Linked DNA regions of Homo sapiens: regions 2 and 3 are each linked to region 1. The links are contacts of gene promoters, found by promoter capture Hi-C in blood cells and fetal thymus (Javierre and others, 2016). All regions are on one chromosome and are shown on one strand. Each heading gives the region's core, a stretch centred on a gene start or on the middle of the fragment in contact. The rest is flanking DNA. Distances are from core to core; before and after follow the strand shown. Region 1 overlaps ARAP1 (ArfGAP with RhoGAP domain, ankyrin repeat and PH domain 1). Region 2 holds the start of P2RY2 (purinergic receptor P2Y2). Region 3 holds the start of RELT (RELT TNF receptor).

What was found. The method cuts DNA at HindIII sites, captures the fragments that hold promoters and counts their contacts. A CHiCAGO score of 5 or more calls a contact.
Region 2: a contact is called between the fragment with the promoter of P2RY2 here and a fragment that was not itself captured in region 1, in 1 of 17 cell types (neutrophils). The highest score is 6.3, in neutrophils.
Region 3: a contact is called between the fragment with the promoter of RELT here and a fragment that was not itself captured in region 1, in 1 of 17 cell types (neutrophils). The highest score is 5.0, in neutrophils.

The regions. Positions count from the first base shown.
Region 1 is chr11:72,690,389-72,693,783 of GRCh38, forward strand. ARAP1 (ArfGAP with RhoGAP domain, ankyrin repeat and PH domain 1) reads right to left here. Exons shown (of 35, transcript NM_001040118.3): 28 at 3,304-3,395; 29 at 2,937-3,082; 30 at 2,365-2,397. Among named protein-coding and RNA genes, the nearest start is that of ARAP1-AS2, 8.4 kb to the right of the region's middle. The HindIII fragment of the contact is 2,865 bases long and covers 714-3,395 here.
Region 2 is chr11:73,216,866-73,220,395 of GRCh38, forward strand. P2RY2 (purinergic receptor P2Y2) reads left to right here and starts at 1,416. Exons shown (of 3, transcript NM_002564.4): 1 at 1,416-1,567. It overlaps LOC124902709 (a long non-coding RNA gene), which reads right to left and starts at 1,328. Exons shown (of 3, transcript XR_007062773.1): 1 at 1,162-1,328. RefSeq lists enhancers at 1,250-1,968, 1,969-2,687 and a silencer at 1,327-1,536. The HindIII fragment of the contact is 6,402 bases long and covers 1-3,530 here.
Region 3 is chr11:73,374,520-73,377,803 of GRCh38, forward strand. RELT (RELT TNF receptor) reads left to right here and starts at 1,880. Exons shown (of 11, transcript NM_152222.2): 1 at 1,880-1,980. RefSeq lists silencers at 1,600-1,909, 1,940-2,229, 2,320-2,399 and an enhancer at 2,565-2,859. The HindIII fragment of the contact is 14,706 bases long and covers 1-3,284 here.

The DNA.
Region 1 (3,395 bases), core at 896-3,395:
AAGGATGTCAGTCAATGCAATCTCCTTTTGAGAATGAATCCCCCAAGCTGGAGTGTAGTGGTGCAATCTCAGCTCACTGCAACCCCAACTCATGGGATCAAGCCATCCTCCCACTTCAGCCTCCTGAGTAGCTGGGACTACAAGCATGCACCATCACATCCGGCTAATTTTTATAGAGACAGGGTTTCACCATGTTGCCCAGGCTGGTCTCAAACTCCTGGACTCAAGCCATCCTCCCACCTTGACCTCTCAAAGTGCTGGGATTACAGGCATGAGCCACTGCACCTGGCCCAAGGACATTTCTAATCAGACGGCTCATGTTTCCAGCATCTCCAAGGCATGGGGCCATGGGCAGACAATGACGTTTACTCTTGATGCTTAAGGATCTCTGCTGGAACCAAGATCTTTCTAGCATGTGCCTTTTCCAGGTGCCTCAGGGTCTTTAACAAGAGGAGACCCCCAGGATAAGGCACAAGTGGACATATATCCTACTGAATCACCTGAGATTGTCCCAATTTCAAATATTCTGTCCTACTGCCGCATAAACCAACAAATGCCAGAGTTGATAACCCCGTGGTAACCAGCTCACATCTGCTCAGGGCCTCTGCCAGGCCAGAGGTGTTGGCTGTCTCTGGGGTGTGAAGAGCACCACCTACCCTGTGCTGAGCACCCCTCCCTGCTGAGTCCTCAAGTCTGAGACTTCCAGGAATACAAGCTTGCGTTTCCACACTAAGAAACCTGGGTGCAAGTCCCAGTCTACACTTATAGATGGCCTTGGGCAAGTCACACAAAGCCTGTTTTCTCACCTGGAAGTGGGGACAGCCCTCTTCCTCAGAGAACAGTAGTAAGGATTCCATGTCTCAGTATGTGAAGGGCCAGCACTAAGCCAGGTTCCTTAGGGAACATTAGATCTCATCCCTTTTTCTAGCTCTCCTGCCTCCTTCCTTCCATGCCCAGGGATCCACACGTCCCTTTCCAGGTACCTCAGCCATCTTCCCTCCCTTCTGCCCACAGTGAGGGTTCTAAACACTCCTAGAGGGAGGCGGCCAGGGAAATAGCATCCCAGAACCAAGGGGGATTGACTGGATGGGCAGATAGGCTCAGAAGTGAGGATGTGATCACAGAAGAGGGCAAAGGAGAGAAGAGACGGTGTTTCCCACAGGGTTAGCAGGAGCCCAGGATGCATTAGAGGAGGCACAAAATGCAAAGAGAAGGAGATGAGGTCCTGCTCTATCTGCTCTGCTCCTGCCATGGCAGCCAAGCCTGTTCAGATGACCTCAGGAAATGCAAGGGGCAGGAAGAGGCTGAAGACACTGGGGATGGGGTGGTGGGTAGCTGTGGGAGCTCAGGCTAGACCACCAGGCTTGGAACCATGTCTCTGTTGCCCATCCTGCAGGGCAGCAGTCCCCAGTCTTTTTGGTACCAGGGACCAGTTCTGTGGACAACAATTTTTCCATGGGTGGGGGGATGGTTTCGGGATAAAACTGTAAAACCTCAGATGTTCAGACATCAGATTCTCATAAGAAGCGCACAACCTAGATCCCTCGCTTGCACAGTTCACAGTAGGGTTCGCACTCTTACGAGAATCTAACGCCGCTGCTGACCTAACAGGAGGCAGAGCTCAGGCAGTAATGCTCACTCGCCCGATGTTCACCTCCTGTTGCACGGCCCTGTTCCCAACAGTTGGGGACCCCTGCTGCAGGGCATCTATGCTCTGTAGCCCCCAAGGCATAGCTGGGACCCATGGGGGCATCATGAGATGCAGATTCTCAGCAGAACCTGAGCAAGGACCTTTTCCAGACAGAAGTATCCCCCTAGGAACAGGGCAGCCCCAAGGGCGGAGGGATGAGCTCTCTCTCCTAGGAGTGTGCAGAGTGGAAATAGCCAGCCAGGAAGCCTCAGAGAGACTGCTACCCCAGGTGGGGGTATCCCACAAGCCTCTCTCGTCCCACCCCGGCATGTTAGGATCAGGGCAGTAGCAAGAACATTCTGACAGTCCTGGAACACTGTCCAGGGTTGGAAATAAGGTGGCTCCAGGGATGACAGGAGATGAAGATCAGGGCTCTAATTCAAACCTAGGTGCCATCATTACTGGCTCTTTAACTTCTACACTAAGTCCTTTGGAAAATTCTAGAGCATTGCACTGATAAGGAACCCTATATTGGGGAAAGGACCCTGGGACAGGATTAGGGATAAAGGGGAGGAGCTTAGGCCCCAGGATAGGGGCCAGTGCCAACGGGCAAGGGGGCAGGGATCCATGCCTGGAGATGGCCAGGAGCCCTGGCTGTCTCCCCATGCTCCCACCCAGCTCATTTGGCCCCCAGGTGGTGTAAGGCAGCTGGCAGTCAGCCCACAGCTACTCACGGTCTCAGGGGCCCCGCTCCACGGCCTCTGGCTCTGTTTGATAGAGGATCAGGGTTATGGAAGAAGTCCCAGGTCTAGAGCCAGGACAGCATGTGCAGTGATGTGTGGGGTTGGGGTGTGTGTATGGCATGTATGTGCAGAAGGTGGAGGGTGTCAAATGGAGTCTGGGTTGGGAGAACACCTGCATGTGGACAGAATGAGGGAGAAGGGTGGCCCGGGAGGCATATGACATACGATATGACAAGGCATGCATGCACAACTTGGGGCTGTCATCAAGTAACAGGTTCCTGTGGATGCAGTGATAAGGCACAGGCACAGTGAGACAGAGCATGGGCATGGAGTGGTGTGATGGCATCCGGGTGCCAGGGCTTAGTGGGGCTACAGGGCACACTAGAGTGGCCGTCCAGGGCCACAGCAGGAGGGGTCTTGAGAGTCTACAGTTCTCCCCCACTGCTGTGCCATCCTGAGAGCCTGTAACGGGAATATTTCCACTTGCAGACCAAGGGGAATCTCTGAGCACATTCAGGTGTACAGGTGCCCACCCTGGGGCAGAACCCAGCGGGGCCACTTACCCGGACCTCCTTGTAGAGCCGCAAGCAGCTGCTGTTGAGGATGAAGTAGCGATCGTGGAAGCCACCTGAGGGCAGGCCCAGGCCCAGGAGGCTGCGGTCCTCACGGAACTTCATCATGCCATGCTTGGTGTCACCGACACGGCTGGCTGGGGGGTGGGACTGGAGTGGGCACAGGCTGCACCAACCCCTACCCGGGGCTGGGTCCCAGGATGAAGGAAGCTGCCCCATCCTGCCCCAGCCTCTCCATAGAGGCCCACCCACTTGGCGCCCTCTGTCTGAGCTGTTCCTACCTGGCACCACCAGGTCCCACCCTGGCTCTGGAAGAGAGGACCACCCGGAGCCTGGCCACCCTGCAGGCACCACCTACCCAGGTACAGCAGCATGGCCTCCATGGCCTGGTGCTTCTTCACCACCAGGTGGCTGTCCGTGCCCAGCCCGTGCAGGATGGGCAGCACCTTC
Region 2 (3,530 bases), core at 166-2,665, 530 kb after region 1:
GGCCACCAACCAGATTTGCCCGCTGAAGGCTAAGGTCGAGCCTGGGTCCTCAACTTGGCGTCAAAGAAACTTGTTTCTCCTGGGCTAAATGGCAGTGACAGTATAAGGTTTGAAGTTTTGGAAGAGGGGAGAGAAAGAGAGGGTTGGCTGGAGTTCCAGTGCCCAAAGGGTCTTCCCCACACTGGAACCTGAAGGCCTAGGCCCTATAACTCGGGCTATGAGGATACTTAGGTCCCTGGAAGGTGCGTGGCCCAGCTTAGACAATAGGCGCAGGAGGCTAGACAAGGGGCCTTTGTGTCTCCCAAGCAAAGGCCCCAGCAGGACTGCAGAGGCGGCTCAGCCACTATGGGCTGTGTGTCCACTCTGCTACTGCTCCTGGTGGGGCTGCAGCCAGCACCCTTCCTGGCAGCCAGGCCCAGTCAGCTGATATGGAGCCCAAGAGGGCCCAAGGCCCCGAAGGCCCGGGGCAAGTTCCTTGGCTACAGGAAGAGGCCTCCTCTGCACTTGTCCAGCCAGCGGAGCGATTGGCTCCATTTCACAGGAAAGAAGACCCTGCCAGGGAATGGAACTGGGTCAAGGTCTCCCAGAGTCAGTGCTGAAGCCAGACAGGAACCTACACTCCTGATTCCTAGACCAGAAATGAGAGAGAGGCGGGGTGCTCATTCATTCATCCATTCACACCTTCAAGGATTGAGCACCTCCCAGGACCTCTAGGACAGCAGCAGGAAGAAGGCAGACCTGGTTCCTGCCCTCGGGAGCTCACAGTCTCCGAACGGGTCAGACATGCAGCCGGTAGCCCGACCAGGGAAGGCCATTAGAGTGGGGTTGACGACAGAGAAGAGAGGTAAAGCAGCTCAAGATAAGGGGCCAGAGTGGGGAGTTCAGGGAGCTGCTGATAAGATTAAGGCAGGGAAAGTGGGGAGCACGGGAGAGGCGGGATCCTGAGTACCCTGCTTTCCTAACCACGGTAATGGAGAGAGGCACCCCCTTCCCCCACTTTCAAGCAAGGGAGGTACGTCCTTAGCCTGGGGTTCCGAGCAGGTATCTCCCAGTAGGTCCCTTCCTGGCCAGCCGGGCTGGGGCAGGGGCGGGACAGGGGTAGGGTGGCGCGGTGGCTGGGCGCAAAGGTCCCGCAGTGGGCCACGCAGGCACCGGGCTGACCTGGCAAAACTTTGGCGTCTCTGAAAACCTCTGGTAACCAGCTCCCTTCTAGCGTGAGGGAGCCGGGAGGCCTCCTTCTGGCCCGGCAGTGAGAGCGTCGCCGCCCGACCCTCCCGTTGCAGCACCGGTACAGACACGCTGACCCCGCGGCCTTGTCGCTGGGCGGCGTCCCGGAGCGGGTGGCGCGGTGTCTACCCGGGCGGGTTGAGGGCGGTGCCAGGGTCAGTCAAAAGTCCGCCCCGCCCCCTGCCTGGCCCGGCTTCGGGGTTGGGGAACAGCGCAGGGAGGTGGGTAGCCGGGCTCCCAGGCACGTGGGTCTCTGCGGCTGCGGCGGGACCCGGGCACTGGCACCCGGGAGCGGCGGCGACGGCACCCTGAGAGGAGAAGCGCAGCGCAGTGGCGAGAGGTGGGGTGGGGCGTCTGGAGGGAACAAGGCGCTGGGAGAGGCCCGGGGAAGCGGCGGGCCAGACTGGCGCAGGTGCGGACTGGGCGCGGGGCAGGGGAGGGCGCTGTGGAGCGGCTGTCGCCCCGGGGCACAGTTGCGAGCCGGCGTGTAGCGCATAACTGGACGGCTTGAACGCGCCTGTGGGTCCGTGGTTGAACTTTGTCTCCACGGGAGCGTCGGTCTCGGTGAGTGTGGACGGGCGCCCCAGTAGTGAGGCTGTGCGCGTCAGCGTACTGGGGAGGTCTGCGTGTTAGCGGGTGAGTGTGTGCGCCCCTCGGGGCGACTGGCCAAGCCTGCGGAACTTGTCTGTGTGTGCTCCGATGTGAGCGTCCCCGTGGCGTGAGGCGGTGGCCGGTGCCCAGAGACGCGAACCCCTGGAGACCCCCTACCACTGTCCTAACCCCAGGGTCACTCTGGGTGGCCACCTACCATTGGTAATGTTGAGGGGGCAGTTGCAGGGAGTGGGCGGGGGAGGAGGGAGTGGCCAGAAAGGACAGTTAAGCCTCTGTCCCCGGGCTTTTAATCTGGCAAATGGTGCGGTAGAAAGGGTCAGTCAGGAGAAAGGCGATACCCCACCCCCCAACCCGAAGGCTGCCAGTGGCCCTCTTGGGGTCCTCCAGGAGCGCAGCCCAAGGGTTGGGGACTGCTGGAGACCAGAATTGCCAGCTCGGGATTTGTGGGGTCCATGGCTGCTGTTCCTCTCAGCATGGCATCCCCAGCTTCCCAGGACCACAGCCTGATCTGCCTGGTTTGTTTTGGATCTAAGCTGAAATAATTATGAGTTTTGAGGATCTGGGTGGAGACCCAGGCAAGTTTATTACCTGTGGGTGGAAGTGGAAGGAAGAAGATTCTCTGAGCAGACAGGTCCACAAGAGAGCTCTGGAGACTCAGAGATCTATGTTCCAATCCTGTCTTGGCCACTGTGTGGCCTGGGCAAGCCGTCCTTTCTCTGAGCCTCAGTGGCCTCGTCTGTAAGAAGGGACTAATGATAAGGAATTTGAGGGCTGTTGAGGAGCTGATGAGTGTGTCATGTTCAGCACCAGTGTCCCCCCATGGGCAGGCTCACAGCTTGGGGATGGGAAGTCAGTCCCTGGAAGGAGCCTCCCAGAACCAGAATCCCAACTGTGCCCCTCCCTAGGGCACAAGCCTTCCACAGGACCAAGCCTGAACCCTGTAGCCTGGGACTTAAGGTATTTGATAACTGGGGCCTGCCAGCCTTTCCAGCCACCTCTCCCGCCTGACTCTTTACCTTGCAGCAGCTGCCTGGAGTCTCTCATTTCTTGCCCCTGGCCTGTTGCATATTCTACACTCCCTCTCTGATAAGCCCTCCTACTCTCACCTTCCTCAACTGGAGAACTACCCAGACTTGGGACCCAGCTCAGATGTCCTCTCCTCTGGAAAGCCTTCCTTGATCCCTACAGCTGGGTTGGAGCCTCTTCTAGGCCCCTACAGGCCTGGGGCTGACAGCCCTGGTCCCACCTGAACCGTCATGATCTATGTCTGTCTCCTCCTTTCCTCTTCCCAGGTCTAGGGGCTCCTGGAGGGCAGAAACTGGGTCTTATTATTTCTGTGTTGCCAGCACCCTGCACAGGGCTGAGCTGAACTGAGAGAGCAGCAGTGGCGCCCATCCCCTGTCTCTGGCACCAGCTTCTCCAGTAAAGGCCCGGCTGCAGGGGAGCTCCATGTCACTACAAAGAAGGGCAAACCAGAATCTGGTTATCAAAGTGGGTGGCACAGTTTGCCAGAACAGTGTGATCTGGGACACTGTAGGACCTAGAGTGCCCAGGCTAAAGACCTAGAGATTTTATCCTGAAGGCAATAGGGAGCCATGGAAATTTATGAGCAGAGGTGTTTCATGGTCAGAGCGGCATTTCAGAAAGCGCTCTCTGGCTGCAGGATGGAGAATGGATCAAGTATTGCCAAG
Region 3 (3,284 bases), core at 630-3,129, 680 kb after region 1:
GGGCTGTGGCCCCAGGAGACCTACTCTATGGAGCTGCTGCCAGGGCAGCCAGGTAGCCGCCTCCCACAGAGAACTTCAGGCAACATGTCTGGCACCCCAGTTTTCAGATGAGGAAACTGAGTTGGGGGTGGATTTGATGAAAACCTCACAGAGAGCTGGTGGTAGAGAGGGGCCTGGACCCTCTCTGGGATGTCTGATTAATAGCCAGTGCTCCAAAAAGCATTTCCCCATTTAGTTTATTGATTGAGACAAGGTCTCACTCTCTCACCTAGGCTGGAGTGCAGTGGCACGATCGCGGCTCACTGCAGTCTCAACTTCCTGGGCTCAAGTGATTCTCCCACATATTTTTGTAGAGACTGGGCTTCATCATGTTGCCCAGGCTGGTCTCGAACTCCTGGGCTAAGTGATCCTCCCAACTCAGCCTCCCAAGGTGCTAGGATTACAGGTGTGACCACTACACCTGGCCTTCCCCATTTGGTTTATTGAGTGACGACACCTGAAATTGCCACCATTTGAACTCTAGAACCTAGAGCTGGGGTGTAGATGGTCCCCTTACAAAGAAAACATTTCCAGGAGTGGAGGCATTCTGGATGCTCTGGCCTTCCGTAGGCTGGGATGTGGGACCCTGGAAGAACCCCTGCCCCAGCCCTGGAGGTCTCCATTGACATATGAGGGTGCTGATGTCATGATCCTGACATCAATGACCTGTAGCTCCTTATGCCCTTCCCCCACAACCTGAGCATGACCCAGGGAAATGAAAACTCATCCCCTGCTCCCCTCCCCATGCGGTGTCCAGTTCGCCTCCTGGAATCTCCTGGACCCTGGGGACCTGACCTTTTCCGTCTCCTAGCCCCTGGGTTCAGATTCTATGACTGTTTAGAACCCCACCCCCAGCCATCTATCCCCAGCTGACTTATTTACCTTCCTTTCTCCATCTCTGTCATGGGCTGTGATTATCCTGACCCCAGCCAGGCCTCTGGCCCAGCACTAGGTCCTCCCTGGTGTCTCAGTCTCCCATCAGCCCTACTGTCCCAGGAGGACCGCCTGAGATCCCCTGAATAGTACTGAGAGGGGGAACGGGCCACTGAGCTGCTCCCTCCAGTCCTGGCACACCCTGTAGCACAACTCCAGGGGACACGATTCGGAGTCGGAATACAGTGTGAATACTGCCTGGAGTTTGTGATGACTGGCATTGGAAACTGGCAGGGTGGGATGGCTGTAGTAGGGAGGGGGGCACTGAGTCACCTGTCCTGCTGGAGGGAAACTAACTACCCTGGCACAGAGAAGTGGTGCGGGGAGTAGGGGAGTGGAGGCAGGAGACGCCTCCTGGAGGATTTCACTAGGCCTTGAAGGATGTGCCGAAGCCCACCGTGTGGGCTTCCTTTATAGACTCACCTTCACCAGGCCTTTTCGCCAACTAGGTGAGGGTTTCCAGGGTTGGGCCTGGGCCTCGTCAACAAAGCAAAGTGAGGTTATTCTTCCTGGCCACCAACTGGCAGGAGGAAGATGAAGCCCAGAAAGGGGCAGAGGTGGCTCTAGTTACACTGGCAATGCTGAGAGGACCCAGAGGAGTATCTCAGTCTCCAGTCTCTTTATCTTGCTTCGCACAACTCCTTGCTTGGTTCAGAGCCTTGAAGAGGCGGATACAAGAGGCCCTCTGGGCACCGCCGCCCAGTCCCGCGCAGCCCCCTGCAGTTCCCAGGGGCGCGAGAGAGGGCGACGTAGAGCAGCACCGCCCAGCGGCAGAGCGGCGAGCCCCTCCGCGGCTCGGGGTGAGTCGGGCGCGGGGCGCAGACCGCGCTCTGACGTCGGGGGCGGAGCGGCCGTGACGCGCGGGGGCGGGTCTGCGCACCTTCCCGGCCCAGCCGGCGATTCATTCAAAAGGCGCGCAGGCTGCGCGGCTGTCCGGGCGCTCGCCGAGCCGGGCCGCGGCGCCGAGTCGAACGGGGAGCCGAGCTGGAGCTGCCGCGGCGCAGCCAGGTAAGGAGGGCGCGCGGAGCGCCCATCCAGAGTCTGCTCTCCGCGGCCGGGCCAGCGGGATACGGACCCTAGTGGCGCCCCCTGCCTCCCCGTGTCTCTGAGGAAGTTCGCGGGCTCGGCGGATGCGGCAGCCCGGCCGCGCGCCCCCCCACCCCACTCCTCCCGCCTCGCGTCCTGTCCCGGCGCCTTCCGCGCACCGGCCACCGCCAGTCTCCGAGCCCCGTGACCTGCAGGTCCTCCGGCCGCGACTCCGGGCCGGCCCTGCGTGGTGGCTGTCGGGGGGCGCGCGGGGAAGCAGCGGAACTTGCGGTGTGAGGGGCCGGCGGGGCCCGGAGCGGTCCCCGGCCCGGGAAACTTGGACCGAGACCAGGTTGTGGTGCGGGCTGGACGGCGGCGCCTCGGCGCGGCTGCGGCGCGGGGCGGCCAAGGGGGGGTCTGGATGGTGTCAGCCCGTGACTGTGGGTGACACGGCGCGTGAGGCGGCCTGGCCGGGCGAACGTGTGGCTGGGACACTGGGCGGTGACGCCGGGCCGAGCGGGCGACACAGAGGGGCTCTGTGTGTGGGAGACAGGCAGCGTGTGTGCGTGTGTTGTGTGAGGGAAAGACCCGGGGTCACTGGGGTCACGAAGTGCGTGGCTTGGGGCGTGACCGGCGCAGGGCCAGGGCCACCCGTTACTGTGAGTGTGAAATAGAGGGAGAGGAGCCCAAGTGACTGAGAACGAGCCGAGCTCGCTGGCGCCATGGTGTGCGTGTGGGGTCAAGTGGTGTCAGTGTGTGTGTGTGTGTGTGTGTGTCTGCGCCTAGGGTGATGATGAGTAAGAGGCAGGAGGAGGAGGGACCGGACCTAGGACACCTTCCGGCAGATGTGGGGCGATGAGGAAGTTGGGGAGCCAGGAGACAAGGGTCTCCAGGACTGTCCCCACGAGGGCACCCCTCAGGAGTTCAGCTTGGTGAGGAGATGGACCCTGAGGGATAGGCCCTGGCTGAGGGAGAAAGCCGAGGCTGGGCAACATCTGGTGGGGTGGCCCAGATGGCAGCAGGGTAGGGGCCCTGTGGTAGTCTCAGCTTCCCCCCGCCCACCTGCATCCACACACTCACGCATCGAAGTCCCTACACCTGGCAAAGTTCTGCCCCTGTGTAATCTGTATTCTCAGCGGACCCGGACACAATCTTGTTCTCAGACCCCCCCGCCCCCCTCCCCCGCGCAGGCCTCAGTCTCCCCATCTGCACACTGAGGTGCTGGGCTTTGAATGGACTGTGAATCATCACTTTGGGATCCTCTATTGTTTTGGGTCAACTGCCTG